Regions from separate parts of the Homo sapiens genome. Here regions 1 and 2 are each linked to region 3. The links are contacts of gene promoters, found by promoter capture Hi-C in blood cells and fetal thymus (Javierre and others, 2016). All regions are on one chromosome and are shown on one strand. Each heading gives the region's core, a stretch centred on a gene start or on the middle of the fragment in contact. The rest is flanking DNA. Distances are from core to core; before and after follow the strand shown.

Region 1 (3,993 bases), core at 789-3,288, 330 kb before region 3:
GGTTCACAAGGTGTTTCAGGTAAGAATGGAGAAAGTCTTGATGGAAATACAGCTGGCAAAGGTCACAGGACCCTGCCTGTGTTTACAGACTGCACAAGAACCACTTGGTGCTAAAAGCACGTGGCCGACAGATCGGCTTCAGCACGTACCTTCATCATTCCTCTTCTGAGCTAGCAGAGAAGGGAATTTGACTTCTTTTTTTTTCCTTCCATAGAGCGGGGCTTGAATTCCTTTGGCAGGGAGTCCCCAAAGTTAATTTTAACCCAGGAAATTGTGCATTAATAACGTGATACGAGTTTTGCTTTCAACAAAAGAAAACAGAATAAAAGGAATTTCCCAGCTACAGGATATTCTGACTATTCTGTGACATACAGTTTGATAAAACTTACACTAAATCTGACGGAAAGGTTTGTTTGTGATGGAGAAGGAAAGAGAGAAGTGCTTGTCCTTTTGTCTTATGTAGTCCCGCAGGAATACACTGACTTATTTCTACCTTTTCCACATCTTTTCCTTTTTCTTTCTTTCTTGTTTTATTTATTTATTTATTTATTTATTTATTTATTTATTTATTTATTTTGAGACGGAGTCTCTCTCTTGTCACCCAGGCTAGAGTGCAGTGGAACGATCTCTGTTAACTACAACCTCCACCTCCCAGGTTCAAGCAATTCTCCTACCTCAGCCTCCCGAGTAGCTAGGATCACAGGCGTGCGCCACCACGCTTGGCTAAATTTTTTTGTATTTTTACTAGGGACAGGGTTTCACCGTGTTGGCCAGGCTGATCTTGATCTCCTGACCTCATGATCTGCCCGCCTCGGCCTCCCAAAATGCTGGGATTACAGGCGTGAGCCACTGCTTGCGGCCTCCTTTTTCTTTCTTCTATTTTCCCATAACTCATACATATTTTTGTTTCATTTTGCTTTACCTAAAAGATCTCTGACGTATATCTTTTCCTTTCTTCTCCAAATCAAAAACGCTAAGTAAACTTGAAACTGATAGAGGTAAGAAACAACTTACTTTCTCCTCCATTTTAATTCCTGGTTGCAAGTAAAAACATCCTATTATATTCCTCATTTTGCATTTGTTAAAATTCCTCCTGCGCTTTTCACTATTTTCAAAGTTTTAAGTTTCTTTCTGTGAAAACTTGCTTATCTCCAGATCTTAGTCTTAAGATTTTTTGCCTTTTTTATTAACAATTGCTACCAATTAGGAATCTCAGAAAAATGAAAGAGAAAAGATTTCCCCTTCCCGTAACACCATAGCAGTAAATAGCATTTGGAATTGTCAGAACCTTTTTGATAAAATGATGTAGGAAAACATTCACAAAACTATGGGCCTTGAGAAAATGTACGGTGTTGCACTTCTTTTCTTTATAATTTTTATAAAATCGTCCCCTTGAACTTTCCTTAATAATGCAAACTTTTAGGACACTCACCTTGATTGGAAAAATTGTTCTACGTCCTCTAAAATGTAATGCTTCATCTCTAAAATATGTTTTGCTATCTGGTTGTTTTAGTTAATAATATGTTACCTTAGTTTCAGTTTTTACACATAAATTTCTATTTTTCTGAAACTATAAATACTCCAAAGAATTCTTTTAGACAGAACTATTTTCCTCTTCTTGGAACTACCTTTGCAAAGATTAGAACACTAGCCGCAGCTACTCAGGAGACTGAACAGGAGAACCGGGAGCTTGAACCGGGAACCAGAGGTTGCAGTGAGCCGAGATCGCACCACTGGACTCCAGCCTGGTGACAGAGTGAGTCTCCATCTCCAAAGAAAAAGAAAAGAAAAAAAGAAAATGATGGCAGTGAAATACATCTGATCTAATGAGCCTGATGGAGGGCAGGAAAGCCCCAAAATTGAAAGCTTAATCCCAAACTTATGACCATCAGAAAAATTTTTAACAAGTAATATAAAAAGGTTTTCCTTTCACAGTGATGTAAAAATAATCTGGGAAAAGACATAAGAATATAACTATGTTCCTTTGCGTTTATAAAGCAGGGAAATAACCAAGATTATACACATATGAATGAACCATACATATGAAATAAGTGTCTTAGTTGAGATGATAGTTTAAAGTGATTGTTCATTAATGTAAACTCTTAAAGAAAAATATTTCTATTAATGGGTTAAGAATAATTTGACTTATTCATAAAATGAATTTTTATAGTCATTCAAGTTGAGGCAGCTATCTGTTACTGATGTGAGAAAAAGCTTTAGGGAATAGGAAAATTAGAGTATAGTATCATAGCTATAATGTTATTTACTTGTGTAAATTTGTGTGTGTAGCATATGCGTGTGTCTTTGGTGGAAAGATGATCACCAAATTGTTGAGTGGTTATTGCTCGATAGATTTCAGTAGATTAAAAACAATTATTGTTTGTATTTTTCTTTATTGATAGTATCTTTACAAATTCAACATTAGCACATTTCAATATAAAACATTAAATTGTTTTATCAGAAAAGGGTCACAATCCAGACCCCAAGAGAGGGTTCTTGAATCTTGTGCAAAAAACAATTCAGGACAAATACACAGAGTAAAGCAAAAGCAAGTTTATTAGGAAAGTAAAGGAATGAAAGAATGGCCACTCCATAGGCAGAGCAGGACATTCCCAAAAGCAAAAGGAAGAATTACGTCCACCTTAGGTACAATGCTTGTTTATATATAAGAAACAAAGCAAAACAATTGTGGGGAAGGTCTACTGTTAGGGGATCTTTGGGGTGTCACTTTTCTGACCGGAAACATCTGTGACCAGTGGCGCCTTTGCTTGAGATTTGGTGGGGCCCACTGGGCTCATTCTGCCTACTTGGCCTTGCAGGCTGTGCTTGGCTGACGCTACTGGCCTTGATCCCATGTCTCCCAAGGGCGAGTAAGGTGGGAGCGGTGAAGGGTATGTGAGCAAGTGTGAGGTCTGGCCACTGCACACAGTCAGACAGGCTGGTTGCTGCAGTGGGGTGGGCAGCTCCAAGTGCCGGCATGGGTGCTGGTTCTTTGCAAGGCTGTGGCCAGACCAGGTGCACTGCAAGCAGCTTCCACAGCTGGCACTGGGGACCATGGTGGTGCCTGGAAGCTTGGAGATTGCAGGGCCCCAAAGAGGGAGTCACAGCCCTGTGGGGGAGCTCCCAGGTCTGGGATCCCCAAAGGGCCACAGCTCTTCTTTCCTTCTCTTCACCTGCAATGTAGGGAGCAAGCAAGGGGCATGTCTCAGCCCTGTTTGTGTTACAGCTCTTTTAGCTTTGCCATTCGTTGGGTCACGAGTTCTTGTCCTGTGACTAGGAAAAGTGAGTTATGCAGACAAGTGGAGGGTGAGTAAGAGGAAGAAGAGCTTTATTGAGCTATAGAACAGCTCAGAGGGGACCTGCAGTGGGGAGCTTCTTTCTGCAGCCGGAGTGTCCTGACAAGTGTTCAGCTCCTAGGGAGCGGGTAGTTCCTCTCTGCTAGAGGTCATCTCAACAAGTGTTGAGGGTAGCTCCTCTCTGCTGCGGGTCCTCCCATTGTCTGCAGCTCTAAGCAGAGAAGAGGCCCTAGAGTGGTGGCTCCTCTCTGCAGCAGGTCATCCCATTGCCTCTGCAGCTCTCAGCAGAGAGTGTAACTCCTCTCTGCTGCTGATCATCCTGTCACCTCTCCATCCTCTGATCTACCCTGCTGTAGCTGATCCCAGGGCTTTTATGGACCTCAGAGGAGAGGAAGTGTGTGCCAGTTGGTCCATGGGTGGCCATGGGCAGGTCTGGAAAAGGCACCACAAGACCCCACTCCACCAGCAGCCTGGCCCCTAGCCTTCGGACCCTCCCTGGGGGACCTGACCCCTTCCACCCAGGAGTCTGTCTGCCTCCTGACACTGTCCATGCCGCCCAGGCTGCTAGCCCCCAGGGGCACCTGCAGGCCAGCACCTAGCTGCCCTCAGCCCCCCACCACTCAGCTTCCCCCGTACCCAGCCTTTGTGCTCCTGGATGCTCAAAGTCTGGAGGGGGCCGAGGCAGCAGGGGGCTGGT
Region 2 (3,497 bases), core at 837-3,336, 340 kb before region 3:
ATTGAAAACACATGGACACAGAGGGGAACAACACACACCAGGGCCTGTTACGGGGTGGGGGTGAGGGGAGGGAACTTAGAGGACGGGTCAATAGGTGCAGCAAACCACCATGGCACGTATACCTATGGAACAAACCTGCACATTCTGCACATGTATCCTGTTTTTTTTTTAAGAGGAGACTAAAAAAATAAAATGAATAAAATATGAATTCAATCAGTTGTGGAAGTGATAATGGGGGATTATAAAGCAAATTGTAGAAAAAAACAGGTGCAGCTGTGTTTTGTTTTGTTTTTAGCATCAGATGGGATTGTTGCCTGTTTAAGTGGTTGCTTTCCTAATTTCTGGCTCTTTCTTCAAACCCAGATTCTCCAGGTAAAGGATCACTGGGCAATCTCAAACATCTGAACTTCATGGATGGCTCGCTCCTAGAGGAAAAACAGCCCAAGAATTATTGTTAATTAAAGAGCTTTAAACTGAATATAACTAAATACCACTGTATAATTGCATTTCAGTCTAAGAATTAATGAGGTAGATGCAGTGGGGAGAAAGAGAAGGGAAGAGAGGAACGCCTCCAGTCTAATTGCTTCCTTGGTTCCACACTTCCTTAGTGCCCATTAGGGAAGAGGGTCCCAAAGGAACTGAAGACTTTTATTCACTCTTGAGGGCTTGATTGCTGCTACTTCATTCAGGGGCCAGGGGCACTGAGATTTTCTGGCCTGGGTGGCTGAGTCTGAAAAAGAGGAACATTCGGCTTTTCTAGCCCCAGAGCCACAGATGATCCACAGCACCTAAAAGCAAAGGAAACAGGGCTGGGTGGACGTAGGGCCTGGTTTTCAGCCCAGGACAGCCACATTTCCCTTCAGTCTGTGAGTGCCTTTTCTCTGGAGTGCTCCCCTCTCATCTTCTGATGAGTTCTACGCACTAGAGGAAGGTGGGAAGAACGTGGGAATTGGCTCTGTTTGACTTTGGGCTAAATCTGACTTAGTTGACTCCATGGTATTTTATTGAGCTATTACCTGATTAATGAAGCTTAACCTTAGAAATTTTAGGAAATGAATAAGATGTAAAGTGATAATGGGGAATTATAAAGCTAATTCTAGGAAAAATGATGATTATTTGCAGTCAAGTCACAGATATAATTGCTATTGGACACTAAACTCTATTAAAAGAAATGGCTGTTTTTAATATCAGTAATTATCTATTGCTTTTTCCTACCTACATATCATCTTTTCTATTCTTTTATTTCTTTATTTTTATTTAAGTTATTTTTGGGACAGGGTCTCACTCTGTCACCCAGGCTGGAGTGCAGTGGCATGATTTTGGCTCACTGCAATCTCTGCCTTTTCAGCTTAAAGGATCTCCCCACCTCAGCCTCCCAAGTAGCTGGGACTACAGACATACACCACCACACTCAGCTAGTTTTTTCTTTTTCTTTTCCTTTTTTTTTAAATTTTTGAAGAGACAAGGCGTCACTGTATTGCCTAGGCTAGTCTCAAATCCCTGGGCTCAAGTGATCCTGCCACCTTGGCCTCCCAAGCTGCTGGGATTACAGGTGTGAGCCGCCATGCCCAGGCTTCCTTTCTGTTTTACACCCATTAGACAATTCTCAGTTTTCAGTTACTCTAGCTGCTGATTGAGAAAGCTGCCTCCCGGATCAGTCACATGAATGGGTAATCTCAGAACTGCTACAAGTCAACTTAGAGAAATGCTGTGGAATAAGGCACACATTAAATAATTTGATGAATAAATTTTTTAACAAAGATGGGTAGGAGCCAAAATTATATGGGTACTTTGCAGACATCAATGCATTAATGTACACAGGAACCATAATATATTATTTTACTATTTATATATATTCAGAAAAGATTTAAAGAGTTTTTTTCAAGGTCATCTGATGTCAGAGTGGGCAGCGTGTTTAGTATGTAAACTCAGATACTTCCAGTTGTAAAGTTTATTCTACACCTTCTCTTCTATATCAACTCTAGTGTTGTCTCTTCATTTTACTTATGAGGAAACAGATGAAAAATAGATTAATAACTTACCCAAATGTCACTCAATAATTAATGACAGGATTGAACTGAGTCTTATTTAGAAGTTCTCCACTCTATATACTTATTATCAGTTTGCGATAGGCTCTATAAAGAGTTTTTTGCAGGAAAAACTCATCTCAGTGAGGCCATTGTTTGATGTTCCAGGACTAATTTGACATGAAGATAAAGAATCACACTCCAGTAACTGAGGTCCCCCTGATGGGAATCCCTCATACAAAGGGGATGGAAAATGTGCTTTTTGTCTTATTTCTGGCCTTCTACCTCTTCACCTTGCTGGGGAACCTACTCATTCTTCTGGCCGTCCTCACTTTCTCCAACCTCCACACCCCCATGTATTTCTTCCTGGGAAACCTGTCTGTGTTTGACATATTTTTCCCTTCAGTGAGTTCCCCCAAAATGATGCTCTGCTTAGTGGGACAAAGCTGCACCATCTCTTTCCAGGGTTGTGCCTCCCAGCTCTTCTTTCACCATTTCCTGGGTTGCACCGAGTGTTTCCTGTACACTGTGATGGCCTATGACCGATTTGCAGCCATCTGCCACCCTTTGCCATACACGGTCATCATGAAACGCAGGGTGTGTGCCCTCCTGACGCTAGGCACCTGGACGGGGAGCTGTCTGCATGCATCTGTCCTCACACTCCTCATCTTTAAGTTATCCTACTGTGGCCCCAATGAAGTGGACAATTTTTTTCTGTGATATTCCGGTGGTGCTGCCCCTGGCCTGCGCAGACACCTCTCTAGCACGGACAGTGAGTTTCATCAACGTAGGTGTTGTTGCGCTCATGTGTTTTCTTCTTATCCTCACCTCTTATGCTTGCATTGTTATCTCTATACTGAAAATCAGTTCCTCAGAAGGTAGGCGCAGAGCCTTCTCAACCTGCAGTGCCCATCTGACGTCCATCCTGCTCTTCTATGGACCAATAGTCCTCATTTATCTCCGACCTGCCTCCAGCCCTTGGCTGGACTCTGTGGTTCAGGTGTTGAATAATATTGTTATCCCTTCCCTGAATCCTTTGATATATACTTTGAGAAACAAAGGTGTAAAGCTGGCACTGAGAAAGGTGCTCATTCAAGGAGTACATAATTGTGGAAGGTAAGCTTTATATCCTGGTCTGTCTTTACAGCTTTGTCTTGAATTTATCTGGGGGCAATTAGCTCCTATATTTTGTTTGATGACTGAGTACCAGGCGCTATTTACAAATACTGATACATGTAATGATTATAATAATCATATGAAGTAGATAATACTATTATCTCGATTTACGAGGGAAAATTAAGGCACTGAGAGGCTGAGATCTTTCTGCAGTGTCATGGAGTTAAAAACTTGCTGGGCGAAAATGTGACCCAAAGCGTCTTAACCATGTGCTAATGCTGCTTCTGTAGTGTCTAAATGGTAACATAAATACTTCTCTCAGGAGCTTCTTTTCGGTTTACACAGAATATTCTT
Region 3 (4,052 bases), core at 1,200-3,699:
ATACATGAATGCCGCTGACCCAAAAAACAGAGACAGAGCAATGACATGAGAGCTACAAGTACTGAAGGCTTTTGATCTTCCTTGAGTGGATTTGATATGAAGAATGCTAGTGACAATGAAAACATAAGAAATGAGGATGGTACAACTGGGTACCATGATATTAATACCCACAACAATGAGAACAACCACCTCGTTGACATAGGTGCTGGTGCAGGAAAGCTGGAGGAGGGGGAGTATGTCACACAAGTAATGGTTGATGATATTAGCACTGCAGAAGGTGAGTCTAAGCATGCACCCGGTGTGGGCCGTGGCTCCAGCCAATCCCATTATGTAAGCAGCAAAAGTGAGCATAGAACAGACCTGATGGGACATGGTGACCTTATACAGCAATGGATTACAGATGGCCACATAGCGATCATATGCCATTGAGGTCAACATGTAACATTCAGAGATGACAAAAAAGAGAAAGAAAAACAGCTGAGTCATGCACCCAACATAGGAGATAATATTCTTTTTTGATACAAAGTTCATTAGCATTTTGGGAGTGAAAACAGAGGAGTAACAGAGATCAATGAAGGAGAGATTGAAGAGGAAATAGTACATTGGTGTGTGGAGGTGAGAATTTAGACCGAAAAGAATGATCAAGCCAAGGTTGCCTACCATGGTGACAATGTAGACCACTAGAAACAGGAAAAAGAGGGGTTGCTGGAACTCTGGATGATCTGTTAATCCAGCAAGAATAAATTCAGTCACTAAGGAGTTGTTTCTAGCCAGCATTTTTTGTCTTCAAAAATCTGGGAAGACAAAAGAAAATTCTATTAGGAACACAGATTTCTTTTTACAAAATCTCATTAATGAGGAGGGGACTCAGGCTGTAGGAATTTGGGTGACTTCTTTGTTTCATGGGATCTGAATGTTCTGAATGTACTGCCACTCCCACTCCTCAACATTTCAGTCAGTGTCTTTTGTCTGTACAGACTGAATGTGACAAACAATTGCTCCTGTCCTTACTAGAAGACAGAGAGGTGGAGTAGCTGAGGCACAGGCCTACCTGCTGTTGAGCTTGGGTTATGTGGATGTGTCTCATCTCCCTCGCTTCCATCTGGCCCTTCACTTCCTAGTTTCTTTTTTTTTTTTTTAAGATGGAGTTTCACGCTTGTTGCCCTGGCTGGAGTGCAATGGTGGGATCTCGGCTCACTGCAACCTCTGCCTCCCGGGTTCAAGAGATTCTCCTGTCCAGCCTCCCAGGTAGCTAGGATTACAGGCACATGCCACGATCCCAGCTAATTTTTGTATTTTTAGTAGAGACAGTGTTTCATGATATTGGTCTGGCTGGTCTCAAACTCCTGACCTCAGATGATCCACCTGCCTCAGCCTCCCAAAGTGCTGGAATTACAGGTGTGAACCACCGAGCCTGGCCACTTCCTAGTTTCTACTTATGTTTCCATTATTCTACTAGACACTTCAGTTTCCTTGTGATGACCACCAGGTAAGGGAGGATTCCTTTAGGGCAGAGACCATACCGATATTCTGTTTCCTAGACAGGGGTCTCCTATAGGGTTTCTAGATACCTTACTATAAGAATCCATGAAGTCACCAGGTGATAACAGAAGACCCTTAGTAGTCAAAGCCTTATGATTCACCACATACAAATCACATAAGTGTTTCTACACATTCTCCTCTATTCCATCCTAGCTAGACAGGATGAAGAAAGGAAGCTGAATGTGCTTTCACAGGTCTTTGTAGGAAGGCATAAGAGAAACATAATTAATTTGGGTACAGTTATATTAGTTGTTAAGTTTGTAAAATTTTACCAAACTGGTATTTTTATGACCCTTAAACTCTTCTATATGTATAGCACATGTCAATATATTTTTTAATAAAGAGACAAATATCCTTTCCTGGCATTCCTCTGTTCTGGATGTGTCACTTGGAACTGCTATTGCTATCTTGATACCAGGCTAAGAATGAAGCCAACAGAGAGAACAGTGTGAGAAAAATGCAAGCCCAAGAGTCAGAGCTCCATACCACTAAGTTTCTTGCTATTGAATAGAATACTTTTCCCCATTTTTCAGCAACATCCAGGAGAGAGAAATAGAAACTTGATTAACTCACCTTCCTTCCACTCAGAGAACTCAGTGCTGACCATTGATATGTGTTTCACCTCCACTGCCCTGGAGGAAGAAATGGCTGTGAAGGTATCTATGTTGATCAGATGTAGTCACAGAATCTTCTTCTCCCTTGACTGGCAAAAGCATTGAGCAGAGATCTCAGAATCTGAATGTTCTGGGAATCATTTTGTGGTGTAGATCAAACTATTATTTATAAATTTGCCAAGAGGGTTTGTTGGAAAACTGCACTTCAAACCAGAGCTACCATGTCATAGAGCACATGGCATTTGCTCAAGGCTTACAATTCTTTTGGACCTGATTACATATCCCCCAGTAAGTCTCTCTCAGGACCTCCCCTACCATGACAAACTCTGCAGGGAAGAAATTGTATGCCCTTGTTTACAGCCTAATTTGTTGTAGTAGAGGTAAATTTCTCATCAGGGATTATACAATCCACAGGGCATAGGAGAAAGAGCATCTGCTCTCATGTATAAAGATGTAAATGTAATGATTGTCAGAATTTTTGCTAATTATAATCCTAGGTAGTATATTAGCTTTAACAGGAATGTAAGTATAATTTAGTGAAGTTTATATGCTCATTTTTAATATTGTGAGTCCTTTTAAATAATCTTTCAAATAATCCATTTTTACTTTTGCATACTTCATAGGCATAAAGAAAAGGGATACTTTTAATTGATTTCAGATTTTTTAATAAAAATTTTGTGTAACATAGAATTATCCTTTATTTCATAAAAATGTATTTACCTTGGGTTGCTCTAACTCAACATGTCTTTGTCTTTCATGTTAAAATCAAATCCGTAAGAAAAATCACTATTCATGGGCCGTTATTTCAAGACAGTGTGACTTTAGAATTTCTCTGTAGGTAGGAATTTGTGCTTGTGAGAAGGCATCTATTTTTTTACCTTTTTATTTTAAAATTACTAGAATCACAAGAAGTGGCAAAAGTCATACGTAGATTCCCTTGAACTCTTCACCCAGTTTCCTCACATGGCGATGTCTTCCACGACTATAGGACAATAGCAAAACCAGGAAATTGACATAGGTTCAATAATGTTAACGAAACTACAGACCTTATTCACTAGTTTAACATGCTCGTATGTATGTGTGTGCAAATCTATGCAATTCTATCCCATGTACATATTTATGTAACCACCACCTAAGTCAGGATACAGAATTCTCTTTTTTTTTTTTTTTGAGACTGTGTCCTGCTTTGCTGCAATCACAGCTTACTGCAGCCTCAACCTCCCAGGTTCAATAGATCTTCCCACCTCAGCCTCCCAAGTAGCTGGGACTACAGGCACATGCCACCACCATTGGATAATTTTTGTATTTTTTATAGAGACAGGATTTCATCATATTGCCCAGGCTGGTCTTGAACTCCTGGGATCAAGTAATCCACCTGCCTTGGCCTCCCAAAGTGGTGGGACTACAGGAGTGAGTCACCATACCCAGCCAAAAATATCCATCTTAAAAGAGATGTATAAACTTTTGTTTTCTTATTTTTTATTAGTAATTATTATATGTATTTATGGGATACAATGTGGTGTTTTGATAAATGTATACATCATGAAATTATTAAATTAAGATCATTAACACACCTATCAACTCACATACTGATTTTCTGTAGTGTAAACACTTAAAATCTACTCTCTTAGCAATTTTGAAATATATATTGCATTATTATTAACTATACTCTCCAGTCAGTGCAATAGATTCCAAAAACATATACCTCCTTTCTAATTAAAACTTTGCACCCTTTGACCAACATCTCATTCCCCTCACCCCCAGCCTCTGGTAACAACCATTTTGTTTTTTTTCTTTTTATTATACTTATTTATTTAAAAATATTTGAGACCAGGTCTCACTCTGTCACCCTGGCTGGAGTACAGTGGCACGATCTTGGCTCACGGAAGCCTTGGC

Evidence for each region. The method cuts DNA at HindIII sites, captures the fragments that hold promoters and counts their contacts. A CHiCAGO score of 5 or more calls a contact.
Region 1: a contact is called between a fragment that was not itself captured here and the fragment with the promoter of OR8B3 in region 3, in 3 of 17 cell types (total B cells, M1 macrophages and M0 macrophages). The highest score is 8.6, in total B cells.
Region 2: a contact is called between a fragment that was not itself captured here and the fragment with the promoter of OR8B3 in region 3, in 2 of 17 cell types (megakaryocytes and erythroblasts). The highest score is 5.5, in megakaryocytes.

The regions. Positions count from the first base shown.
Region 1 is chr11:124,071,804-124,075,796 of GRCh38, forward strand. No RefSeq gene overlaps it. Among named protein-coding and RNA genes, the nearest start is that of OR10G7, 32 kb to the left of the region's middle. The HindIII fragment of the contact is 348 bases long and covers 1,865-2,212 here.
Region 2 is chr11:124,052,586-124,056,082 of GRCh38, forward strand. It overlaps the pseudogene OR10D5P. Among named protein-coding and RNA genes, the nearest start is that of OR10G7, 13 kb to the left of the region's middle. The HindIII fragment of the contact is 2,119 bases long and covers 1,028-3,146 here.
Region 3 is chr11:124,396,575-124,400,626 of GRCh38, forward strand. OR8B3 (olfactory receptor family 8 subfamily B member 3) reads right to left here and starts at 2,450. Exons shown (of 2, transcript NM_001005467.2): 1 at 2,116-2,450; 2 at 1-794. The coding sequence starts at 777. It also overlaps a transcript of OR8B2 not described here. The HindIII fragment of the contact is 12,656 bases long and covers 1-4,052 here.